Linked DNA regions of Homo sapiens: all the other regions are linked to region 1. The links are contacts of gene promoters, found by promoter capture Hi-C in blood cells and fetal thymus (Javierre and others, 2016). All regions are on one chromosome and are shown on one strand. The core of a region is centred on a gene start or on the middle of the fragment in contact, and the rest is flanking DNA. Distances in the headings are between cores, read along the strand shown.

Evidence for each region. The method cuts DNA at HindIII sites, captures the fragments that hold promoters and counts their contacts. A CHiCAGO score of 5 or more calls a contact.
Region 2: a contact is called between a fragment that was not itself captured here and the fragment with the promoter of SGPP1 in region 1, in 2 of 17 cell types (M2 macrophages and M1 macrophages). The highest score is 7.3, in M2 macrophages.
Region 3: a fragment that was not itself captured here is called in contact with the fragment with the promoter of SGPP1 in region 1 in 1 of 17 cell types (M0 macrophages); the score reaches 5.1 in M0 macrophages.
Region 4: a fragment that was not itself captured here is called in contact with the fragment with the promoter of SGPP1 in region 1 in 2 of 17 cell types (megakaryocytes and fetal thymus); the score reaches 5.9 in megakaryocytes.

What each region holds. Positions count from the first base shown.
Region 1 is chr14:63,726,662-63,729,373 of GRCh38, reverse strand. SGPP1 (sphingosine-1-phosphate phosphatase 1) reads left to right here and starts at 1,309. Exons shown (of 3, transcript NM_030791.4): 1 at 1,309-2,113. The coding sequence starts at 1,430. RefSeq lists enhancers at 818-1,007, 1,968-2,017, 1,662-2,163 and silencers at 1,218-1,317, 1,608-1,707. The HindIII fragment of the contact is 15,620 bases long and covers 1-2,712 here.
Region 2 is chr14:64,465,851-64,468,562 of GRCh38, reverse strand. AKAP5 (A-kinase anchoring protein 5) reads right to left here. Exons shown (of 2, transcript NM_004857.3): 2 at 1-431. The coding sequence starts at 168. It also overlaps a transcript of ZBTB25 not described here. Among named protein-coding and RNA genes, the nearest start is that of AKAP5, 1.7 kb to the right of the region's middle. The HindIII fragment of the contact is 183 bases long and covers 1,371-1,553 here.
Region 3 is chr14:64,415,767-64,418,478 of GRCh38, reverse strand. It overlaps MTHFD1 (methylenetetrahydrofolate dehydrogenase, cyclohydrolase and formyltetrahydrofolate synthetase 1), which reads right to left. Exons shown (of 28, transcript NM_005956.4): 7 at 455-591. Among named protein-coding and RNA genes, the nearest start is that of MTHFD1, 29 kb to the right of the region's middle. The HindIII fragment of the contact is 632 bases long and covers 1,147-1,778 here.
Region 4 is chr14:64,298,302-64,301,013 of GRCh38, reverse strand. It overlaps a transcript of ESR2 not described here. Among named protein-coding and RNA genes, the nearest start is that of ESR2, 5.3 kb to the right of the region's middle. The HindIII fragment of the contact is 3,583 bases long and covers 1-2,712 here.

The sequences.
Region 1 (2,712 bases), core at 60-2,559:
CGACCTCAGGTGATCCGCCCGCCTTGGCCTCCCAAAGTGTTGGGGTTACAGGCGTGAGCCACTGTGCCCAGCCCTGCCCGGCTAATTTTGTTCATTTTTTGTAGAGGTGGGATCTCCCTATGTTGCCCAGGCTGTTGTCAAACTCCTGGACTCAAGCCATCCTCCCTCCTCGACCTCCCAAAGTGCTGAGATTATAGGCATGAACTACCACGCCTGAAGGAAAGTATTTCTACTGTTTTAAGGGCATGGGACAATTTCAAGCCTGTTTCTTGGAAGTAGTTCACATTCTTTAATTACAGACATTCACCTGATCATGGCGGGTGTGGTGGCTCACGCCTGTAAACACAGCACTTTGAGAGGCCAAGGCAGGAGAATCACTTCAGCCCAGGAGTTGGAGACCAGCCTGGGCAATATAGCGAGACCCTGTCTCATCTCTCTCTCTCTAGGTATATATAAAAGACATTCACCTGACCTGAGGAGTTCAGAGACCTTATAAACTGCTCTAGCTAGAAGTCAAGTTGGTAACTTGTGAGACACGGAAGTTAAGCGTCTAAATTAACGTTACCAAACTCAAAAATCTATACACTGCATTCATTCTCTACATTTATTCTGTGCAAGCCCTCTAGGTATTAGAATCTAGGAAAAGGAAATTTTACACTTAAGAACACCTGTGCTCCCTTAACATATACCAAAATATTTGATAAATGACACAGTATTTTGAATTTGTAGGTGGCTGGCTTTTCTTTTGCAGACCACACCTGTTAATATCACCTGGCCCTGTCTTGGGATCTACATGTAGTCTTGTCACCACTGGTCAATTGGCACATGGTTTTCCGAACATCAGTCGCCTGGGACAGCTCTGTAATTACTTGTTAATTACTTGAGTCGAATGATTCCGAACTCATGGTAGTTGCTTCGCCTTCATTGATCATTCACCATTTGGTTCTGTGCCAGCAGGATGCCCGGCTGCTTGGTCACAGGCATTGCGCAAGCTGGCACCGGGATCGTGGCCTCTTTAAGTCAACTTCTGGCTGAGGGAATCCGGCGACACTAGCCCGCGGAGAAGAAGGGCTGAAGGTGGAGCAGGGGGACACGCCGCGTCCCACCAGACGTACGCCGCGACGCCTGCTGGTGGATATTACCCGGGACCTCAAAGCGGCCGCCCGCCGATCCTCAGCGCCAAGCCACGGCCGGATGCGCTCAGGGCGGACCCGCGCGGCCCGGCCCCTCAGGGAGCCCGGGTGGGGGCGGGGCTGGGCGGGGCGGGGCGCGGCGCGCGCGGGGCGGGGGCGCGCGGCCTGTGGCGCCGTCACCCGGCAGACTCCGGAGGGTAGAGCGCTGTGCCGGTTCCGCTGCCGCTGGCCAGGAGCGCGGGGACAGTTCGGGGCTGCGCCGGAGGCCGGCCCGCCTTCCCGGGGGTTCCGTTATCATGTCGCTGAGGCAGCGCCTGGCCCAGCTGGTTGGCCGTCTGCAGGACCCGCAGAAAGTGGCCCGTTTCCAGCGGCTGTGCGGGGTGGAAGCGCCGCCGCGCCGCTCAGCAGACCGGAGGGAGGATGAGAAAGCGGAGGCGCCTCTCGCCGGAGACCCTCGACTGCGAGGGCGGCAGCCAGGGGCGCCTGGAGGCCCCCAGCCTCCCGGGAGCGACCGCAATCAGTGCCCGGCCAAGCCGGACGGCGGCGGCGCCCCCAACGGCGTGCGGAACGGGCTGGCGGCCGAGCTGGGCCCGGCCTCGCCGCGGCGCGCGGGCGCTCTGCGCCGCAACTCGCTGACGGGCGAGGAGGGCCAGCTGGCCCGCGTGAGCAACTGGCCGCTCTACTGCCTGTTCTGCTTCGGCACGGAGCTGGGCAACGAACTCTTCTACATCCTGTTCTTCCCCTTCTGGATCTGGAACCTGGACCCTCTGGTGGGCCGGAGGCTCGTGGTCATCTGGGTGCTGGTCATGTACCTGGGCCAGTGCACCAAGGACATCATCCGCTGGCCGAGGCCCGCCTCGCCGCCCGTGGTCAAGTTGGAGGTCTTCTACAACTCTGAGTACAGCATGCCCTCCACCCATGCCATGTCCGGCACCGCCATCCCCATTTCTATGGTCCTCCTCACCTATGGCCGCTGGCAGGTAGGGTTCCTTCTCGTCCTGTTCAGCCTGGGGGAGTTCAAAGAACTCGGAGTTCTCTTTGCTCTCTGCATTTATTTTAATTCGACCGTTCCCCTCCAAAGCCTCTCTTTCCACAGGTTTTCACAATACTCGCAAACAGGCCCTTTCTGGGTTTTGAAAAATTAAGTGATTGGGGGAAACTGGATACTTAGCCGTTGAATTCTATTTTAATATTAAATTCCAATTTAATGCCTTAGAACCCAAAGGACACACTTTTCCTAGAGTAATACATTGTCATTGGGCTTTGGTTGAGTTTTTTAAACGGCTTTAATTCTTGTAATGCACAGTGGAAGTGAATTTTTTAAATAATCGCTATGTAAACTAAGACCCAGTTTCACCGTAATATATGGTGCCTTCTTCCCTAAAACTGTTTCAGAAAGAGGTAAAGTCATTAGCTTTACCGTGAGACAGTGTTTACAAAACGTTAGTGTAATTCCAAAACAAACATGCTAGTTCCAAGCAATGAAGTAATCGATTTTCATCGAAGTTCCCTTTATGGAAGTTAATGGAGCACAGGGTGAGTTCTGTTTTTAAGGGGTGTGGTTGCTACTTTGCTGATA
Region 2 (2,712 bases), core at 213-2,712, 740 kb before region 1:
AGCAGCTTCAGAGCCAGCTTTGGGCTTCAGTGCTTTGGCTGCTTTCTTTCTTCTCTTGAAGCAAAGCATGGATGCCTTTTCCTTCTGCCTTTCAGCCCCAGGACTACCTTCTGCTGATCTCTTCTCATCCTTGTTTTCTACATGAATTTCTGAAATTGTGGTTTCCATTTTTACACTGCACTCTTATTCTCTAGAAAACTGTATTCTCTCTTCCTTAGCAGCCTTTTGTGACAAAAAGATGAGCAAAAATGTCACACTAGGTAAAATTTCTTCCAGGCATATTCATACCTTTCATCTTACTCCATACAGTTGTTTTAGGTGGTTTCTCTAGTATAGAAATGCCCAGTTTCTCTATGGCTTGTAATTTCTCTCTTTAATTTCTTGATGAAAGCCCTTCTTTGGATAAATTTTTGCTTTATTTAAAGATCAACCTGATGAGAGAAAAGAAAGTGGTATTTTATTTCACTATGAGCCTATTATTTTCTGTGGAGACTATTTCAGTGAATGTATAAGATTCTACCAGGCATATTTTCCATATAATAACTTAATGAAATGACTGGAGAATAAACATTGGGGTTTACTTTGGCCCTATTAAAGAGTTCAGTGTGATTCTATTTTGTTTTATCCTCCTTGTTGAAACTTCATTTTGGATTACCCTGCAAGTCTGATATTATCAGTTCTTTAGTTGTGTTGTCTGTGTGAATTGCTTATGACTCTAAAGTGCAAGTTAAGCAAACAACAAGAACCAAAAATGAAGTGCAGGATGAAAAGCAAGCTGATGTAATCTTTATCACACTCAATAGATAATTTTAAAGCTGCAAAGGACTTTAGAGATTATTTGAGATTACTCAAATCCAGCCAGATGACAAAACTGAACTCCAGAGGGGAGCAGTTGTCTTGTCAAAAGCCATGCAACTAGATAAGGTCATAGCCAGAGTTAGAACTAGAGACTTTGACTCTCTAGTTTTACCATTATAACATAAGGTTTCTGTTCTAAAAATGTATGTTCCATCAAGGAAGTGCTATTTTTCATACATATTCTTAGGAAAATTTAGCATTACTGTCATTTCCCACTCTTAAATTAGTTGTACAATTTTGACATTTTCATTTAAGTACTGTATCTGCTGTATCACATGTTTCCACCATAATCTGCACATAGTTGGAAGTCAGTAAGAGTAGTAATAGCTGACATTTATTGAGCAATTCTTGGGTATTAGGCAGTGCATGCACTTTTACATACATCTCTAATCCTCACCACAATATTACAAAGATGGTGGTATCACCACGTACAGATGAAGCAATTTGGCTGAGATTACGGCAGAGCTGTAACAGAGCTCAGATTAACACAAGATTGCTTGTTGCTTAAAGCTTATGTTCTGAAACTGGGCTTTAAGAGTTTCGTCAGAAAATGAATTGTTTGGGGATACTAATCTGCAGTGTTTCATTAGTAAAAAAATTAAAAAATTGATTAATGGTCATTTAACCATAAGGCACTTATCAACTCATAATTGAACCACGAGTAGACTGAGTTCTTGTCATTTGAAAACCAAGCTTTTGAAATTCTTTATATTTTATTTTTTTGGTTCAGGAACTAATTTAAAAGCCAAAAATAAGTTGGCAAACTATGCAATTGGCAAACTTAGATAATATAAAGGTGTATTGAAAATTTAATCCTTAGAATGGTATGATGGCACCAAAGAATGGAAATGGGAGGTGATTATCCAACAAAGATCCTATGAATTTTAGTGGGTGGATGCCCTAAAATAAGCAAAGGGACTCATTCTTTATATTGTTTTTATGTAAATCCTTCACTGAAGTTTCATTTGGGTAACCCATAATTTTATGAACTGTAGAAGGAACTGGAACCCTGAAAATCAGTTTATGATCTAAGTAAATATTATCTTAGGTTGGGTGTTTCATACTGTGTGCCTCTAACAGAAAGATAAAGTCATTCTAGAACAATGACGGAACTAAAATATGAACATTTGACAGTGTTTCTCCTCACAATGTTTCAGTGAGCACTAGAACCTAAGCTGATAACTGTTTAAATCTTCTCACCTCTTGTGAGTTTTCAGCACCTGAGCATTTTTGTTAAGCAGAGGCTGTATTACCACATAATAGAAATATTGAAATGAGATGTTTAGGAGTCTGTCATTGGAAACTAACCTGGATTGCGCAAAGACAATCGTTTGAGAAGCTCACTTGAATGTATCTCACATACTAGAAATAAAACGAATACCCAAACAGAAACTTAACTAACGAGGGAAAATAATGCAGTCTGTAGACAATAAAACTTTGCAGAATGTCAGACTGCAAATGATTCGCTCTTAACCAGCAAGGGTAGCTTTATCGCCTCAGGAAATCTTAAAGTCCCTGTGCTCATTTCCTGATGGAATTGCAAGTCTCATGTCACAGAAAACACCCCCTTTCCTTTTTCCCTTGAGCAGCCAGTACCCGAGGAAAGCAATGCATCTTTCCCAGCACCAGATACGGACCACGAAGCTTCCTCCTGGAGGAAGGAATCTCGAATTCTGGCTTGACGCCCCTTATGGCAGGAGACAGAGCGCAGGATAAAGTACTCAAAAAGGAAAATGCCGGGGGCGTGGAACAGATAACCCAGCTTCAGGCTGTCTGCAGAATTATAATGTAATGGCCAGAAACCCAAAATCACATTTCTCAAAGAGGGATAAAGAAGGAAAAAAGCCACCGGCA
Region 3 (2,712 bases), core at 213-2,712, 690 kb before region 1:
TTTAATTAATTAATTTTTTTTTTTTTTTGAGACAGGGTCTTGCTCTGTAGCCCAGGCTGGAGTGCAGTGGTGTGATCGTAGCTTACTGCAGCCTCGACCTCCTGGGCTCAAGCAATCCTCTTGCCTCAACCTCCCGAGTAGCTGGGACTACAGGCATGTGCCCACCCCATCTGGCTAATTTTTAATTTTTTTTGCAGAGAAAGCGTCTCACTATGTTGCCCAGGCTGGTCTCAAAAACTCTTGGGCTCAAACAATCCTCCTGCCTCAGACTCCCAAAGTGTTGGGACTACAGGTGTCAGCCACCCCACTCAGCCTTTAATTTGAATTTGTTTTTTCATCTTGTAAAAATGAGATGATGGGGTTAAATGAGGTCATGAGTGTAAAGGACATGGCAGCCTCTGGCACACCCACCCTCCCCACCGTAACACCTTTACCTCTCCTCTGGACACCCTACCTCCTCATCCAGATGGGCAGTCTTGGAGTGGCAGGTGGTCACTGTGGCATTGTTCCACAGAAGCAAGTCATGCATCGGGGCCCCAACTATTTTACTGCGCCCAACCACCACAGCATGCCTTCCGGCAATCGGCACCCCTGAAAGAAAAGCCAGCCTGCATCAGAGTTGGAGGATAGAAGCTGCCCTCCTTCGCATGCCACGTGGAGAAATTAGAATAAGTGCACAAAAACAGGTTCTTAACATCAAACAGAAACCTTCCTAAAAGCATTCCTTCTTTGGCAATAATATTCTCAACTCTAGGGTTTCAGCTATAAATTGGGACTTGTACTTGTGTCCTTCTGGCCGTGGGTTTTTGGGAGCAGCTTAAGCCAAGATCATTCATTGAGTCATAGGGGAGTGGGAAGAAAACCTACACTCAAAGAAAAAAGAAACCCTGACATACAGCTAATCAGCCATACGGAAGAAGACATCAGATTAAATTACATGGGGAAAAAAAGTTAAAACAAATAGGGTGTATGTAACAGGCTGGAGAGATGTGTAAGAAATTAGATTAGTATCGGTAATTCCTTCTAACTTTGGTAAGTTTGTTTATACAGTTCCTCACCCAAATTTCTCTTTTGGCTTAGGGCCTGAGCCATAGGGTTACTTGCAGGGAAGTGATAAAGGGGAAATTGAACTGTGGCAGCAAAGCTTTCTTTTTGCTATCACAGCATCCATTTTTCTGGCAATATACCAATGTCCTTTTCAGGGCTGACTCATACTCTACTAAAGACAGCCTGAGTGAGTACCCAGTAGTGGACAGGGGACCATATTTCTTCCCTCAGCTGATAAGATCCAATCCCATGACTGTTAGGCATGAGGATGGAACCAGGCTGTAGGTGTTTGTGGCCACAAAGTGGAGCCCGAAAATGAGCTGTCCACAAAGAAGAAAGCAGAGAGAAGTTGACGACTTCATCAGAGTCCTCAGGGCAGTCAAGGCTGAGGGCAGTGGACCCTTGCTCAAAGCAGCAAGGGTTTAAATTGTGCTTCTCGCATAAAATCATTTTTTTTCAGAAAAAGATAAACTCTTATAATAATGTGAACATCATGAACATCTAGAAGTAAAGACCTCAAAGTTTTAAAAGGTAACTTTCTATACTTTTTAGGATTCAGCAGAAGAGTTAAAGCTGCATCAGGGCAAATGGTAGCATCACTCAATAAGAGGCAGTGGGAGGCCTTCAGGTGCTGTCCTCGTGGGATTTTTTTCTTTTAAGCAAGGCACTACAATGTTTGCTAAATATGCTGAAGAATATACATTTAACTGTAGAAATGAACTGTCAAAGCTTGACCTTTGACCTTTTCTTGCCAACCACAGAAAATTTTCATTTATGCTGGCCAAAACTTTCCACTTGAAACTTCTGACCTACTTCTTTTTACCAGGACCCATTTCCTTGTAAAAAATAACCTCTGCTAAAAGTATTCATAATGAAATTAAAATAGCAAGGTGCTAACTAGTAACGGGACAATATGGCCAACTGTGCAGGAGACCCATTTCCAGCCATCTGTCGAGTCCTGGAACTACTGTGGAGATTCAGTGCCCATTTTGGGGGTGGGGGGAGGTGGGGCTTTTCACTTCATATCCTTTTAAACTATCCAAATTTTTATTACTGTATAGGTTAAAATAAATTGCTTTGAACTCAGATAACTCTGAATTCAAATCTTGGTTCCGTTGTCTCCCAGACAAGTTACTTGCTCTCTCTGAGCTGGTTTTGTTTGTTTGTTTGTTTGTTTGTTTATTTTAGAGACAGAGTCTCGCTCTGTTGCCCAGGCTGGAGTGCAGTCAGGTGATCTCGGCTCACTGCAACCTCCGCCTCCCAGGTTCAATCAATCCTCCCACCTCTGCCTCCCGAATAGCTGGGAATACAGGTGCATGCCACCCTGCCTGGATAATTTTTTTGTATTTTTAGTAGAGACAGGGTTTCACCATGTTGACCAGGCTGGTCTCGAATTCCTGACCTCAGGTGATCTCAGCCCGCTTCAGCCTCCCAAAGTGCTGGGATAACAGGCATGAGCCGCTGTGCCTGGCCTGAGCCTATTTTCTTAGCAGTTGAACAATAACAGTACCTACTTCACAGAGTTGCTGAGAAAATTGAGAGAAAATTTAGGTAACATCCTTAGTAGACAGGCCCTTCTGCCAATCAAGTCCATTTATTTATGGCCCACAATGTACCTCCTCTATGCCACCACATGTCAAGACCAGGATTCAGGAAATGGTGCTT
Region 4 (2,712 bases), core at 70-2,569, 570 kb before region 1:
TAAGGATAAAATTAAATAGTGCAGGCAAAGGATTTACAAGCAACTGCTGAATGAATGGTAGTTATAGCCTCCTCCTCATCATCTGTGAGCAAACACCCTCATATTTCCTTGTGTCTCAGGTAGACACTTAAGGTATTGCAAGCATTAAGGGAGCATTGTCACAAAGAGATAAATGCATGAGGGCAAGATGCAGTCTCAAAGAAGAGTGTTTTATGAAAGAATAAATGTAATGCTGAGTGTCAGAAAAAAATTTTTTTTTTTAAAGATGAGGTATCTATCACCCAGGCTGAAGTGCAGTGGTGTGATCTTAGCTCACTGAAGCCTCAACCTCCCAGGCTCAAGTGATCCTCCAGCCTCAGCCTCCCGAGTAGCTGGGACTACAGGTGCCACCACACCTGGTTAATTGTTGTATTTTTTGTAGAGATGGGTTTTCGCCATGTTGTCCAGGCTGGTCTTGAACTCCTGGGCTCGAGCGATCCTCTCATCTTGGCCTCCCAAAGTGCTGGGATTGCAGGCATGAGCCACCACACCCAGCCTGTCAGAAAAATTTTAAGGTGAAAATAACTAAAGAAGTTGTTAAGAATTTTCTCCCTTGAGTGGTATTTTAGACTGAGATGAGGGAGGGTAGAGGTAGGATGAGAAGGAAGGGATGGGGTCCGGTTGAAAGGCCTGTGAGATAGTAGCAGTGCAATATGGCAGATGTTGACAGCCTCAGTGCTAGGAACACAGAAACTGAATCTCTTGCAAGGAGGCAGGTGTGCATCTGTATGGAAGTCAGATGACCTGTGTTCCTATGAGTGCAAATCTGGAAAACACCCTCAAGTTTCCTTGTCAGCAAATTGGTGATAAAATCAACATTGTAGGGTTGGTGTGAACATGCAGCATGATGTGGCCATGCAAGTTCTTTGTTAACTAGAAGCCAGTGTCATGCCAGGACAGCAGTCCTCCTAGTAAGCTGTGGCTGGTGGCGTGGTAGAATACGTGGAGCAGGCTGAGGAAGCACTTGACTTGACTATGAGCAGAACCATTAAGAAGCTAGTTAGCTAAACTGCCTGGACAGTAGAAAAATAATATGTGAGAATGTAAAAGGAAGAGAAACAATGTGAGGGGAGAGGAGAATGCAGAGATCCTGGCCCATGGAACAGCATTGGTGATCCTTAAGTAGCTGCATGAACTACTTGGAGAAGTTCATTTTCTGTTTATAATTCCCAGCAAAGGAGAGGACTGAATAAGAGAGAAGAAAACGATTCCTTTCTCTGGTTAGGTTCATCAGATCAAACGGTGACATATGTGAAAGAAGCACGCTCTGTGCACAAAAAATCAAGTCTGTATTTTTATAAAAGCCATTTCTGGGCTGGGCGCGGTGGCTGACGCCTGTAATCCCAGCACTTTGGGAGGCGGAGGCGGGTGGATCAGGAGGCCAGGAGATCGAGACCATCCTGGCTACCACGGTGAAACCCTGTCTCTACTAAAAAAATACAAAAAAATTAGCCGGGTGTGGTGGTGGGTGCCTGTAGTCTCAGCTACTTGGGGGGCTGAGGCGGAAGATTGTGCCACTGCACTCTAGCCTGGGCGACAGAGCGAGACTCCGTCTCAAAAAAAAAAAAAAAAAAAGCTATTTCTGTAATGAGCATCACTGGAGAGTTAGTTGCTATGGGTCTAAAGGACAATATGAGGCAGTTATAGTAACTTTCCATGATATGAACAAAGAAATTGAAAATGTTAGATACATTTACAAGAAGATGTAGAAAAAACTTTAGTCAAAATTTTTGAAATATTTTTTGAAATATTAAACTATGAAATCAGACAGTCTTATCTATGGTCTCAAGCCATGTCTGTCTGTACCTTTTTTTTTTTTATCTCATTTCAGGGAATATTACACTGGCTGACTTATTAATATCTTCTGAGCCAGAAAATGTAAGGAAGCTGCATTTTCAGAATTGCATTTGAGTCATTTGTGAAATTGCATATTACAATTTGCCGCCATTTCTAACAGTCCTATAACTTTTTTTTTTTTTTTTCTTAACTGGGTGTTCACATTCATGCCAATGACCTCTAGGGGCTAGTTTCTCTTCTAGCTCAAGAGAATTGCTGCAGAGTTGGAAGTAAGGACAAAAATGTGTATGCTTCATGTTTGATTTCAAATGCATAGAAAATTAGAAACTTAAGGTATGCAAGGGATTTGTGTGGAATTTAAGTACCTTTGAGGGGCAGTGGACAGGACAAAAAGTTATTTTTTACCTGTTTGTTTACAAATAGCAAAGATCAAGACTGAAACACATGAGTGTGATTTAGAAAGAGTTGGCTGCAGGTGCTGCTTGCTCAGGTGGTTCATTTAAACTGCAGGTCAGAGCAACCTTGTCTCATGGTCCTGGTGCCCAGGTATCAGGTTGGGTCTGTCTTGCTGCTTATGTCCTTGTTACCCTCTGAGGGCCCCAGTCCAACGCAGATCAATAAAGAATAAGTTACATAAATATGCTCATAGGTGGTCATTCCTAGACAAGAAATTGACAACATTTCATTCAACAGTATCTGGGCTCTACAGGACAGACATGCCTCCATTTATGCAACAAATAAGAACAGCATCTCATGACAGTGGAGAAAACATGGGATGTGCAGGTAGGTAGGTAAAGTTGGGTGGAAACTTTCACCCTACCAAATGCACATGGGTGACTTTATAAAATAAATGTTAGCTCTCTGAGCCTCAGTTTT